Linked DNA regions of Homo sapiens: region 2 is linked to region 1. Evidence: promoter capture Hi-C in 16 types of primary human blood cells and fetal thymus (Javierre and others, 2016). All regions are on one chromosome and are shown on one strand. The core of a region is centred on a gene start or on the middle of the fragment in contact, and the rest is flanking DNA. Distances in the headings are between cores, read along the strand shown. Region 1 holds the start of PCDHA5 (protocadherin alpha 5). Region 2 overlaps PCDHA1 (protocadherin alpha 1).

Region 1 (7,566 bases), core at 1,389-3,888:
ACTATTCTCATATTTTCTATCCACAGAGGATATATAATATGGATATTTTAGCACATTCCCTTATAGGGCAGTTATACCTTCCTCTGTGACTCATTATACAGGCAGCGCTAAGATGTGTATTATATGCTCATGGTATCCTTTCTTACTATCCTTATAATAGAATAAATTAATTTTTATACAGAATTAATTTTTGAAGAATCAAATGACATATGTGCATAAATTATTTATACATTTTTATACAATTGCTTCAACATTTCCTCTTCTCTGCAATCTGGTATATCTATATAATTTCTATAGATAAGAGAAGAAAAATATAGCTTATTAAAATTTTATTCTGGGTTTTGTAAGGAATAAAGGACATTTGTACCCTTATGAAGATTAAATTTTCTTGTGTTAGTATATTTCTAAAGGCTTTTAGTGAATTAAATGGAGACACTTTAATATACTACACAGTTTTAAATCTAAATTTTTTTCTCAAGGAAGAACTTCTGTTTACACAATGATGCTTAAACATGACTGAAATATCTAAAGGAGAGGTTAACTGGATCAGTCAAGAAAATAATCTGTAACATTTGATTGAAGAAAATAGCTTAGAAGAAGATTTTTTAAAATGTTCTTTTCCTGTGGAGTCTCCCATGAAATTCAGATTGGATAATCTATAGTTACTGAGAAAGGAATATTCAAAATAAGAGTTGATCACTGTAGCACAAATGCAAGTGATAATTTAAAAAGTAAATATAATTTAACAGATATGAAAGTGAATCAAAAGTCAAGAGTCTTGTTTCCTCCTGAAATATCTATATAAGTACATGAGATATTTTTTCCAGACTGAGAGGAGCATGTGAACTGATATTGTTGATGACTTTTTCTCCATTGAGTATATCTTTTAAAATACTCAGTATTTATCATAATACTCTGCAGATTACAATGTACACATTGTTAATACTACATTGTTAATTTGCCTTTTAAATACTTAATATTTACTTTTTTCAAAGGTTATCTTTGTGTATTTTGTATAAAATTCTACTATAATTTATTCCATAGCTTTGTAGTTTTACATTATTTACTGTTATATAATAGAAAGTGGCTAACATCAGCTAATGCTGTTTTCTAAATATTTATTATCATTTTCTTATGTTTTTAACCATTGTGTATTAAAATATTTCAAAATTATCAGTATGAAAACTATTAGGCAAATAGTCTGGGAAATTGATTTGTGTTTCAACGATCCAAATATTAGTGAAAAGTCATGATAATAGAGATAGTAAAAATCTTATAAGGGAACTGGTAAATATATCTTTAAAGATTGTATCAGAAACAATTCTATGACAATATCTTGTTTCTTTACAAGTTTGAATTCCAGAAATCAAGTGAATTTCCTCTGACTTTGCATTTTCTGGTAATTTCTTTTTTCTTATCAAGCTATATTTTAAATGTAAAAGTATCCAACAATAGAATTGCTAATCTCTTGGTCCCTCTTGTCTTCACAGGTAAGGGATATTTTGTAATATTTAAGGAATTTTATGGAGTATATATACAAGCAGAATGTTAGCTATTTCTTCAATAGAAAACTTGGTGATATTTTCTTTTGCCCATATTTATTAAGTGAAGTTTACTAAATTTTCTAGGTCGTGTTCAAATCATACCATCCAGTAAACAGTTGGGAGATTAAAAAGTAATTAAACTAATATAAAGATAGCCTGGTTAATAAAATGATATTCTTTTCAACATGATTATATTTACTGGAACCTAAACATTTTGTGAAATAGTATGTCATATAGACAATATTAGGATTTTGACTTGTTATGTAAGTACAAAGGTATGTATTTTACAATTTTTAATAATTGCTTTATCAGTAATAGCAACTTGAAGAAATGCTATCTAGATGCTTCTAATTTGAAAATAGTGCAAAGACGATTTACCAAAGTCGTTCTATTATGCTTTTGATTTCTAGAAAGCTGAAATATCCCCATTACAGTTTTTGAGTCAATACAAAAAGTAGATAGGTGTTATAGATAAAGAAATAGGTTTTCATCGATTTGAAAATTAGAACTCCGAGAAGAAACTCAGGTAAGAATGCCATTAAAATAGTTTTAGTTGTTTTTGAAAATAACATCAACAAAATGTCACTATTAAACAGTGAAATTGGAATAAAAATTTGTTTTATGAGTAACACGGAGATAGCATACAAACATTCCATTGACTAATACAGAAAAAACTCAAAAGTTTTAATTAGATATGTTTAAATAGAGATGAGAAAAGTCAAAACTTTAACTCTTAAAAGTTATTTTTATCAGTTTGGAAATATATAAACTCCTCCCTATATAAAATACACCAGCACAAATTTCTCTAGTAAGGATTGGGGTTTCATGACTTTAGATGTATTTTTCTGTAATATTTTAATGACGCACTTATATTGACGCATTTTAAGATAGAGTTTAATGATATATTTTGACTAGAGATAAGTGATTTAAAGAATAAGAATCATGTCATTGAAAGTGAGAATACTTGAGAAATATTGACGAATATAAGCTAAATAAAGCAAAACAAAATAAAACACTTACCCTTTCATCCACATGATGTCGCTGGACACCGGAAGGTTTTTCTCCCTTCCCAGCCTCAAAGGAATACAGTGAGTAGATTTTCCTTAGACAGAAAGGAAAAGAACCTTCCATTTTTGGCTGTGCCAAGAAGCTCAGAAAGGCGATAATATAAAAAATATATAGTTAATTGGGAATTGAATTTACAAAATACATTGTGTGGTGATGCAATAGAAAGCTCATAATTGGAACGAGATTGAGATGGTATATTCCCGGAGAGGAAGTCTGGGATCCCGGCTCCTGCTGCTCTGGCTTCTCCTTGCCTACTGGAAGGCAGGGAGCGGCCAGCTCCACTACTCGATCCCGGAGGAAGCCAAACACGGAACCTTCGTTGGCCGCATCGCGCAGGACCTAGGGCTGGAGCTGGCGGAGCTGGTGCCGCGCCTGTTCCGGGTGGCGTCCAAGGGCCGCGGGGACCTTCTGGAGGTAAATCTGCAGAATGGCATTTTGTTTGTGAATTCTCGGATCGACCGGGAGGAGCTGTGCCGGCGGAGGGCGGAGTGCAGCATCCACCTGGAGGTGATCGTGGACAGGCCGCTGCAGGTTTTCCATGTGGAGGTGGCAGTGAAGGACATCAATGACAATCCGCCCAGGTTCTCCAGACAAGAACAAAGATTATTCATTTTAGAGTCAAGAATGCCAGATTCGCGGTTTCCGCTAGAGGGCGCGTCGGATTTGGATATTGGAGCAAATGCACAATTGAGATACAGGTTAAATCCAAACGAATATTTTGACTTAGATGTTAAAACAAATGAAGAAGAAACGAACTTTTTAGAGCTGGTTTTGAGGAAATCCTTAGATAGAGAAGAAACACAAGAACACCGTTTATTAGTGATTGCAACTGATGGAGGAAAACCCGAACTAACAGGTACAGTTCAGTTGTTGATCAATGTATTGGATGCTAATGATAACGCCCCAGAATTTGATAAATCCATTTATAATGTCAGATTGTTGGAAAATGCACCAAGTGGGACATTAGTTATTAAACTGAACGCCTCAGATGCAGATGAGGGCATCAATAAGGAAATAGTGTATTTCTTTAGTAATCTTGTTCTTGACGATGTAAAGTCCAAATTTATAATTAATTCTAATACTGGTGAAATAAAAGTTAACGGGGAACTGGATTATGAAGACTATAACTCATATGAAATTAATATTGATGCCATGGATAAAAGTACATTCCCATTATCAGGACACTGTAAAGTAGTAGTGAAACTCCTGGATGTGAATGATAATACCCCAGAGATGGCCATAACCACCCTTTTCCTGCCTGTCAAAGAGGACGCTCCACTCAGCACGGTCATTGCTCTGATCAGCGTGTCTGACCGTGACTCAGGTGCCAACGGGCAGGTGACCTGCTCCCTAATGCCCCACGTTCCCTTCAAGCTGGTGTCCACCTTCAAGAATTACTACTCGTTGGTGCTGGACAGCGCCCTGGACCGCGAGAGCGTGTCGGTCTATGAGCTGGTGGTGACCGCGCGGGACGGGGGCTCGCCTTCGCTGTGGGCCACCGCCAGCGTGTCTGTGGAAGTGGCCGACGTGAACGACAACGCTCCGGCGTTCGCGCAGCCCCAGTATACCGTGTTCGTGAAGGAGAACAACCCGCCAGGCTGCCACATCTTCACGGTGTCTGCACGGGACGCGGACGCGCAGGAGAACGCCCTGGTGTCCTACTCGCTGGTGGAGCGGCGGGTGGGCGAGCGCCCGCTGTCGAGTTACGTTTCGGTGCACGCGGAGAGCGGCAAGGTGTACGCGCTGCAGCCGCTGGACCACGAGGAAGTGGAGCTGCTGCAGTTCCAGGTGAGCGCGCGCGACGCGGGCGTGCCGCCTCTGGGCAGCAACGTGACGCTGCAGGTGTTCGTGCTGGACGAGAACGACAACGCGCCGGCGCTGCTGGTGCCTCGAGTGGGTGGCACCGGCGGCGCAGTGAGCGAGCTGGTGCCGAGGTCAGTGGGTGCGGGCCACGTGGTGGCGAAGGTGCGCGCAGTGGACCCTGATTCGGGCTACAACGCTTGGCTTTCGTATGAGCTGCAGCCAGCGCCTGGCAGTGCGCGCATCCCGTTCCGCGTGGGGCTGTACACAGGCGAGATCAGCACAACACGCTCTCTGGATGAGACCGAAGCACCGCGCCACCGCCTTCTGGTGCTGGTGAAGGACCATGGAGAGCCCCCGCTGACAGCCACAGCCACAGTGCTGGTGTCGCTGGTGGAAAGTGGCCAGGCGCCGAAGGCCTCATCGCGGGCGTCGGCGGGCGCTGTGGGTCCCGAGGCTGCCCTGGTGGATGTCAACGTGTACCTGATCATCGCCATCTGTGCGGTGTCCAGCCTGCTGGTGCTCACGCTGCTGCTGTACACCGCGCTGCGGTGCTCGGCGCAGCCCACCGAGGCCGTGTGCACACGGGGCAAGCCCACTCTGTTGTGCTCCAGCGCGGTGGGGAGCTGGTCGTACTCGCAGCAGAGGAGACAGAGGGTGTGCTCTGGGGAAGCTCCACCCAAAACAGACCTCATGGCCTTCAGTCCAAGCCTTCCTCAGGGTCCCACCTCTACAGACAACGTGAGTTTTCTAATATTAACATCCATCTTTCCCTCCCAATTTTCAAATATTAAATGTCACATTCACCCACTTTTTTTGTATTTAAAAATTATGTCTTAGTACACAAATATTGTGGTACACAATTATTGCACTAATTCATGTATTATATGCTTTTTATGAGGCTTTTCTGCTGGGGTAATAGATTCATCAGCTTTCTGTGATATTAAGTGTTTTTAAAATAATATTTTATATTAGCATTTGAATTTTGCATCTCTAAAAATGTAGGATAATAATTGTAAGACATAGTTTGGAGTCATTCTCAAAGTTTCAGTTTATGACTACATGAAAATTTATTTTATTTTATTGTTATTTTTTAGAGACCCTTTGTTGCTTAGTCTGCAGTGATCTGATCATAGCTCACCGAAGCCTGAAACTCCTGGGCTCAAGTGATCCTCCTATCTCAGCCGCCCAAGTAGCTGGACTACATGCACATGCTAATTAAAGTTTTTTTTTTTTTTTTTTTTTTATTTTCTGTAGAGATAGGGGTCTTGCTACTTTGCCCAGGCTGGTCTTGAACTCCTGGTTTGAAGCCATGCTCCCGTCTCAGCCTCCCGAAGTACTAAGATTACAGGATTGAGCAAGAGTGCCTGGCCTATAAAAATGTTTTAACACCACCCTTCCAATTTTGCCTTTTTGTTTCTATTGAATTTAAATTAATTATTATTTTATTACACTAATTTAGTTTGTTTTCAATTGTATTTTTGCAGCATATGGTTTATTTCAACTTTGCCTAAGCAGTTCACCTGTATACCCATGATGAATTTGATAATTGTAATTTAAAAATTATATTTTTCATTTTATTGATTTTTTGAATAGGAAACACATATACATGGTTTACTGTTCTAAAGGTGCAAAAGAATACAGTTAAATTTTCCCTTTCACCTCCTTCATGAAGCCAAAACATTCTCTGGTATCCTTCTAGAGATTTTTTTCATATACAAATAAACTTCCCTACCCCCTTAAAAAACATATGAGTATTGATTTTAATCTTGCTTTTTTCATTTACTAATGTATCTTGATGATCATGAATTATCATTACTGAAGTAGATTTGTTTTTCTTTTATCTGGATCTATGGTGTTCCATTGTGTAGGTATGTGATTGGTTATTTTTCCCTTAACATTAACATTTAGTGGAACAATGATTTAATTTTCTGGAAATTTGCATATTTTTCAATATATCTAATATATATTAGATATATAAATATCTAAAATATCTAATATATATCTAATATATTATATATTTTATATAATATATATAATAAATATATAATAATAATATATATCAGATATTTTGATACAGAATTTTGCTCTTGTTGCCCAAACGAGTGCAATGGTACAATCTTGGCCTCCCAGGTTCAAGCGATTCTCCTGCCTTATCTTCCCAAGTAGCTGGGATTACAGGCATGTGCCCACACCTGGCTAATTTTTTGTATTTACTAGAGACGGGGTTTCACCATGTTGGTCATGGTGGTCTCGAACTCCTAATCTCAGGTGATTTACCCGCCTCGGCCTCCCAAAGTGCTGGGATTGCAGGCATGAGCCATCGCGCCTGGCCTAAATTATTATATTGATGAGGAGTAACTGTGAATCTCCTCAGTTGTGCAAATTCTACTATATTTTGGTTGGGAAATTTTACTGCTTGTTGTTACTTTTAGATTAAAAAAATAAATATACCATGATACAAACTCCCCTCTTGAGTTGTTTACAAAGAGTTGTTTATTAAAGCTGTATGTTTGAGACTACGCTAGACAGGTGTCCTCTCCATCTGAAATAATGAGAACCATTTGTCTACTCTTTTGAGGGGAAAAGTATGGATTTATAGGTAGTAAATAGTCCACACTTTACATGATAAAATGTGAATTCCCTATTTCTGTTGCTTTGCCTGTTTCTTTTATTCTCATATGCATTCAATTTTATAAGTACCCTTCTATCATGCTATTTATATATTCCTAATATCCTGAGCTACTTTGAGGAAGTCCTAGAAATTGAGAAATAGTTTTTGTCATTCTATAAATCTAAAGTTAACAATGGTCACATTTTAAAAAATCAAGTTTTGTGATATAAACTATTTATATATCTCTTTATATATCAAGTCTTTATGTATATTTTGTGCAGCTTGTCTTTTTTATAGGAACCTCTTGTTTTGGGGATTGTTTTTGGTTAAGAAATTGAACCCTTTGTTTGCCCAAAATAACTGCAATAGAAAGTCAGTGATAAGAACTACTAAATAGATCCAGGTTAATTATTTTAAGATAGAATTTCACATGGAAGAAAAGGCTTTGTGTCACAATCATCTGTGAGGCATTTTACTGTATATCAGAATTTTGGAGTAAGGTGAAGATGATCATGTCATTTGAAAAGTCTTATTGGTGAC
Region 2 (7,566 bases), core at 3,520-6,019, 120 kb after region 1:
ATGTTGATGCATATGTGTTTATATTTTGCTCAAATTCTAAGTTCTTTCATTTTAGTTTACGGTAAGTTTACAGTATATATTAACATAGCCTGTAATACTAAAAATTATCAGTTTAAGAAATTCAGGAAAACATGGTTTTTATCTCTGTATTTCCAATTGATAATATTTAAGATATAAACAAAATTGATTCACTGATTGTATAACAATTAGACAATGTGTACCTCATGTCCATTTTTTTCTGTTAATATTCTTGATGGGCAATTTAAATTTTTTAGAATGGTATCTAAGAGGGTACCTCTGAGATATAAATTTCTACTTATTAAAAACTGCATTGACAATTTTTAAAGGTATAAATATATTAATGTAGCAAAAATGCATGAAACACTTACCATACAACTGGCCTTATTAAATTTCCACATGAAAGTTATACATAGTTTCAACATACCAATGTTATATTAGTGTATTGTTCACCTGGAATTAAAGCATCTTCTTTTTTGCCAGGGTATATAGGAAATAGGATATCTCCTCTTTGCAATGTCATTTGTTAACAGTAGTAGAATGTTTGTGGCATTCAAGGTGCTTTATTTAACATACATTCCACAAGTAGACTTTCCCATAGGGTAATTAGATGTTTTGTATATCTATTTTGACTTTGAAGCTGATAACCACACTAAAAAACTTTAGAATGATGAAACTAAGGAAGTTTGCATGACATATGAAATATATTCAAATTAAAAAACTCATATAGACAACACAATAATATTGTATAATATAGACCCTCAAATCAGTAAAAAGGAAAGAAAAAGAACATTATAATTTGAGTGGACATAAGAGAAAAGCAATACCTTGGAAACATATAAGTGGGAAAGTATTGACAATGTGTCTCATAATGTTAATGACTTATTGTCTTTTGTTGTCTTCAATATTTTCAGTTAGAGGGAAACAATAATATTTCAACAACTAAATTAACTTAGCTAGGTTGGAATGAAGGTGGACTAAATTGCTGAAAGGTTTTTACAATGCTCAAATGCATGTCATATGAATATCGGAAATATTAACACTTGGCAGAACTTCAAGTGAATATGGATTACAGTCCAGGATCCTGACTAAAGTATTATGGGAAGTAAGGAATTTGTTGGTAAAGGTTGTTCTTAAGAAACAAAGCTAAATAATAAAGGTAGATAGCCACTCATTTTGTTCCCAATTTTAATTGATGGCATAAGATAATGGTTCAGGATATAAATAAATTACATGTCTGTTATATTGCATTTATGAAAAAGAAAGGACTATAAACACAAAAGGTTATTATATATTCATTTGGAACTTGTTTTGGAATCTGGAAATAAATATGCAATCTCGTATTCTCCTGTGCTGTAGAGAAAGATAAACACTTTATTTCTAACCCATCCCAAATTCCTTGGCTGTTCCTAGAGCCATCTGGTTACCATCTACAGATATTCTGTGTTCATAGGGGCACTCTAATGACATACCTTCAAAATATACTCTGAATTCAAACACATTATGGTTATTCTTTAGAATTGTTAAGCAAAGACTACAGCTGTTTTGTTTAAACTCAAAATAATGTTAATATAAAATAAAAACCAATTAAGAAGTCTTAATAGTGGGTTTTTAGGTTGATTTGTCTTTTTCTTTTCTTATTAGGTTAGGCTGGCCCTGTTAAACAAGTTGGAAATCCTGTCTCTCTCTCTGTCTCTCTCACATTTTTTTTCCTATTCCTCGGACACATTTACTGAGATTGGTGATACAGCTTTCTTAAATATTTGGTAGAATTCACTAGTGAAGCTCTCTGTACCTACAGTTTTCTTTGTAGGAAAATTTTAATTGAGATCAAATTTCTTTGTATTTTTATTGCTCCTATTTCATTCCTGTACCTTTAATTTTTTCAGATATATGTTAGTTTTATCTGTACTTTTGAATATTTTGGCATAAAGTTGTTTATAATGTCCTGTTGTGACTTTTTTTCACATCTGCAGGATCTGTAGTGATGTTTCCCTTTTCAATCCTGGTGTTAGTGTCACCTCTCATTTTTCTTGACTAGACTTGGAAGTAGTTTATTAATGATATTAGTCTTTCCAAGGCTAACTTTTGGTGTTTTGGGTTCGCTTTGTTGTATGTTTGCTTTCTATTTTATTAATTTTCATACTTTATTAATTTATTTCCTTCCTTATATGTTTATATTTCAGTGTGCAACAGAAGTACTCTAAACATACTTTTCATTTCTATTTCCTCACACAAAATGTTTAAAAGATTTGTACTTAATTGTGGAGATTTATCAAAATTAATAATAATCAGTGCTTCATCAAGGGCATTCTTACTGGTATTTTTCTTACTGCAAATGTCCAATCATGAATGTAATAACCACCAGTACAGTGTGGAGCCACTGCTTTGACTCCTTCTGTGGTTCTATGGTGGCCAGCTTTACCCACCAATGCTTTTGCATTATCAATGCAAGTGTAAATATAGTGAAAAATGCAAATAATGTTTTAACATTATTTTGAAAATTATATTCACCTCATAAACACCCAAAGGGTCCATAGACCACACTTCGAGAGCTACCGTTCTAATTCTATCATTTCTTCTTTTTTTTAATTAATTGTAACATTTCTGTAATGGGTCTTCAACTATTTGATTAGCCTGAGGTACAGTTCACACAGGAAAGGCAGGATAAATGTTTGATTCTTCCCCTTTGTTTAGCAGTATTCAAAACAATGAATTGATTCCTGGCCATCTTACAAAAAGGACCAAGGCCTTTTTTAGGTGTCATTATGAACTCATTGACTTAAACATATTTGATATGGCCCAATCCATGTCAATTATCTTTTTAATGATCAAATTATGCTAACTTTGGCAAGTTGGGAACTGTTCAGCTTTGCTCCTGAGTCTTTGTGAGTGTGTTTGTGTATCTTGTTTTAAACCTTTTATTTTGGAATAATTATGGATTCACATAAAGTTACAAAACTAGTATAGAGAGATCCCATGTGCTTGTCACCCACTTTTCCCCAGTGATAACACCCTGAATCCTTTTCATGTGAGTCTTAATAGTCTTTTGAATGCTTCCTTGATTTCTGGTATTACAAGATGTTCAGATTATCTTGTACATTTCCTTTCCCAGAATCAGCCATTTTTCAAAGAGCTTTCACTTATTTTTAGTGAAAGATGATACTTAGAGATATAATCTCAACAACAGGTGTGCTTATTGCTGCTGGGTCAGTTGCTGTTTCTAGGTATCTTCAGCTACTGAGCTAAGGGATGTCTATTTTTTAAAAGATAAAATACATCACATGTTTATACTAATCTAATAAAGTTCAGCACTCCGAGGTTTTTACTTAACTTCATCAATCTTACATTCCTATTTCTCCCATACGTCAAATCCCAGTTTTCATTAACGTCAACAGAATTACTCATTTGTTATCCCACGGGACTCAAACAATGGACTTAGAAAACAATTTCAGCACTACAGAAATAATATGATACTGTAGCAGTTTAAGTTTTTGTCATTCTTTTCATTTATAAGGCACATCCTTACAAATGCCCAGTAGGCATGTACAGTCAAATTATTGTGTTTTAAAGTATCTTGGAAAAGTTCCTCTCTGTGTAGTTAAGCCACCAGCTAGATACAGAGCTAGGCTTTTTTCAAGTCGCTTTCAAATTTAGGGCTTGCTTTTTAAATTTTAATTTTCTTTTATAATTATGTGAAATATTTACATGGCTCCAAAATAAACTTATAAAACAAAATATATTTAGAGAAGTCTAGTATCTATTATTCCATACAATACACATTCTTCCCCACTTTGAGTTTTTTCACTTAAAAATATAAACGAGATTATTTCATAGTAGTATAGTATTTACACATATTCCATACTGCTTAATGGTGTCTTTTGATTAGCAATTAATGAGCTCCAATTTATCAATATTATCTTTTTTTTTTTTTTTTGAGACAGATTCTCATTCTGTTGCCCAGGCTGGAGTAAAGTGGTACAATCTTGGCTCACTGCAATCTCTGCCTCCCGGGTTCAAGCGATTCTCCCACCTCAGCCTCCCGAGTAGCGGGGATTACAGGCACCCACCACCACACCCGGCTAATTTTTATACTTTTAGTAGAGACAGGGTTTCACCATGTTGGCCAGGCTGGTCTCGAACTCCTGACCTTAAGTGATCTGCCCGCCTTGGCCTCCTAAAGTGCTGGGATTAGAGGCCTAAACCACCACGCCCAGCCAAAGTTGTCTTTTTTATTTAGTATTCTTTCTATCCTTTTAAAGAAAACATATCCTGCTTCAAGTCATGAAGATATATTCCTGTGTTTTCTTCTATAACATTGCTATCCAATAGAACTTTCTGACATGCTATAAATTTTCTCTATCTGCATATATGGAATGTGTAGCTACTGAGCACTTGAAATGTGGCTAGTGAAACTGGGCTACTCAATTTTTAATGTTACTAATTTTAATTAATTTAAGCTTAAATAACCACATCTGTTTAGTGGTTGCTGTAGTTCTGGAAGCTTTCTTGTTTTAACTTGCACATTTAGATCTTAAATTACCTGAAATTGCTTTTGAATATAGTGCAATGTAGAAGTCAAGATTTATATTTTCCACTTGTAAATCCAGTTAGATTGCCTACTTTCCTCGCTGCTACTGTGCAGTGCTACCTTTGTCATAAGCAACGTGACTTTATATATTCTGTTTCTGGACTGTCTATTCTGTTTCATTGGTCAACTTGTCTATTCTTGTGCCAATACATTCTGTGTTAAATATAGTAACTTTTCATTTGTATTGATATCTAATTGTGTAAGTTCTCTCACTTTGTTATTCTGCTTCAAGATTAACTTAGCTATTTTTGGCCCTTTGCATTTCTATATAAATTGTAGATTCAGCTTCTCAGTTTCTATTTTAAAAAACCCTGCTTTGATTTTAATTGGCACTATATTGAATCTGTAGAAAATATGGGGTATATTGAAAATATCTTATTTTGATCTTTATTGAATCTATAAAAATATGAAGCTTGTTAACATTGACAATATTGAGACAGACAACCGATTAACAAGGTATATTCTTCCATTTATCTTTTTTTTTTTTTTTTGAGACGGAGTCTCGCTCTGTCGCCCAGGCTGGAGTGCAGTGGCGCAGTCTCGGCTCACTGCAAGCTCCGCCTCCCGGGTTCATGCCATTCTCCTGCCTCAGCCTCCCGAGTAGCTGGGACTACAGGCGCCCGCCACCATGCCCGGCTAATTTTTTGTATTTTTTGTAGAGACGGGGTTTCACCGTGTTAGCCAGGATGGTCTCGATCTCCTGACCTCGTGATTCACCCGCTTCGGCCTCCCAAAGTGCTGGGATTACAGGCGTGAGCCACCGCGCCCGGCTTCTTCCATTTATTTTATTATTTTATCTTAATGTTTATGTGTGTGTATGTGTATATAGGGGTATTGCACAACTTTTATTAGATAGCTGATATTTTAATGCTATTTTAAAAGTTTAATTTTATAATACAAAAATTAGCTGGACATGTTGGCACATACCCGTAATCCCAGCTACTCAGGAGGCTGAGGCAGGAGAATTGCTTGAACCTGCGAGGCAGAGGTTGCAGTGAGCTGGGATCGCGTCACTGCACTCTAGCCTGGGCAACAGAGTGATACTCCATCTAAAAAGAAAAAGAAAGGCAGGGCATGGTGGCTCACGCCTGTAATCCCAGCACTTTGGGAGGCTGAGGCAGGCGGATCACGAGGTCAGGAGATCAAGACCATCCTGGCTAACACGGTGAAACCCCGTCTCTACTAAAAATACAAAAAATTAGTCGGGCGTGGTGGCGGGCGTATGTAGTCCCAGCTACTCGGGAAGCTGAGGCAGGAGAATGGCATGAACCTGGAAGGCGGAACTTGGAGTGAGCCGAGATCGCGCCACTGCACTCCAGCCTGGGCGACAGAGTGAGACTCCGTCTCAAAAAAAAAAAAAAAAGTTTAATTTGATAATTGGCTTTTGTTGAAAGTATATAGAAATAATACTGATTTTATGTTAACTTTGTATCCAATGTTCTTGCTAAATAGTAAAATCTCATATTTTTATATTTTGGGTTTTCTACATATACTGTCATGCTATTCCCAAATAATGTTAGTTTTATTATTGTATTTTTTACTTTCTCTCTTTTTTTAAAAAAATAGAGATAGAGTCTCACTACATTGCCCAGGCTAGTCTGGAGCTCCTGGGCTCAAGCAATCCTCCCACGCCAGCCTCCCAAAGTGCTGGGATTACAGGCATAGGCCACCATGCCTGGTCTTTTAAAAACTTTCTAATCACATAGTTTTCTTGCTTTCTGTCATTGCCTATGAAATTCAGTATAAAATTGAATAGAAGTAATGTTAATGGATAATCTTGTCTTATTCCTGGTCTCAGAGAGGAAGTTTTTAAATATTTAATATGAAATACATTGTTTGATTGGGTTTATTTGCAAAAATCCTTTATCAGATTTATTAAGTTCCCTTTGTTTTTTAATTTATTATGTTTTTTAAAAATCATGAATAGGCATTGAATTTATCACATATTTTCTGTTATTGAATGGATAATATGGATTTTTATCCTTTTATTAATAGCATGCATTATATTGGTTGATTTGTTAATGATAAACCAATCTTGCATTCTTGGAATAAACTCAGGTTGCTTATGATGTATAATCCTTCTTTATATCATTAGACTTAGTTTCCTAACATTTTCTTTACAGTTTTTAAATATATGTTTATGATAGAAACGCGTTTCTACAGAAAAAAATAATTATTTTTAAAGGCATAGTTATTGGGTACTAGACTTAGTACCTGAATGATGAAATAATCGGTACCACAAACCCCTGTGACATGAGTTTGCGTTATAACAAACCTGCCCATGTACCCCTGAACTTAAAAGTTAAGAAGCAACACACACACACACAGATGCGCACACACACACACGCACAAGAAATTGGCTTTTAACTTTCCATTCTTATAATGCTCTAGTCGGAGTTTGGCATCAAGGCTATCCTGGCTTTATATAGTAAGTTAAGAAGTGTTACTTTTCTTTTACTTATTCGGAAGAGTTGTCTTAGTCCATTTGGGCTGCTATATCAAAATAGCATAAACTGGGTGGCTTAAAAACAATAGAAATTTATTTTTCACAATTCTGGAAGCTGGAAAGTTGATGATCAAGGTCCTGGCAGATTTGTGTCTGGTAATGGCCCACTCCCTGGTTCATAAAACAGAATGTCACCTTCTTGCTGTCTCTTCACCTTCTGGAAGGAGCAAGGTAGCTCTCTGGAACCTCTTTTATGAGAGCTGTGCCCTCGTGATCTAATCATCTCTACAAAAGCCCTACCTCCTAATATCATAATCTTAGGGGTTAGCATTTCAACTTATGATTGCAAAGGAGGAGGGAACACAAACATTCAGATCATAGCAAGTTTGTGTAAATCAGCATTTTTTTCTTCCATAAGCATTTGAAGAATTAAGAGTGAAATTTATAGGCCTAGAATTCTCTTCATGAGAATGTTAATTATAAATTCAATGTCTATAACATTAATAGTTAT

The links. Contacts are between HindIII fragments. The CHiCAGO score rates a contact against its expected background, and 5 or more counts as called.
Region 2: a fragment that was not itself captured here is called in contact with the fragment with the promoter of PCDHA5 in region 1 in 1 of 17 cell types (monocytes); the score reaches 5.0 in monocytes.

The regions. Positions count from the first base shown.
Region 1 is chr5:140,818,975-140,826,540 of GRCh38, forward strand. PCDHA5 (protocadherin alpha 5) reads left to right here and starts at 2,639. Exons shown (of 4, transcript NM_018908.3): 1 at 2,639-5,153. The coding sequence starts at 2,802. All of the region lies in intron 1 of PCDHA1 (protocadherin alpha 1), which reads left to right. All of the region lies in intron 1 of PCDHA2 (protocadherin alpha 2), which reads left to right. All of the region lies in intron 1 of PCDHA3 (protocadherin alpha 3), which reads left to right. It also overlaps PCDHA4 and PCDHA@. The HindIII fragment of the contact is 13,774 bases long and covers 1-7,566 here.
Region 2 is chr5:140,931,956-140,939,521 of GRCh38, forward strand. All of the region lies in intron 1 of PCDHA1 (protocadherin alpha 1), which reads left to right. The region is part of intron 1 of PCDHA2 (protocadherin alpha 2); the gene reads left to right. All of the region lies in intron 1 of PCDHA3 (protocadherin alpha 3), which reads left to right. The region is part of intron 1 of PCDHA4 (protocadherin alpha 4); the gene reads left to right. It also overlaps PCDHA5, PCDHA6, PCDHA7, PCDHA8, PCDHA9 and PCDHA10, and 5 more genes. Among named protein-coding and RNA genes, the nearest start is that of PCDHAC1, 9.4 kb to the left of the region's middle. The HindIII fragment of the contact is 499 bases long and covers 4,521-5,019 here.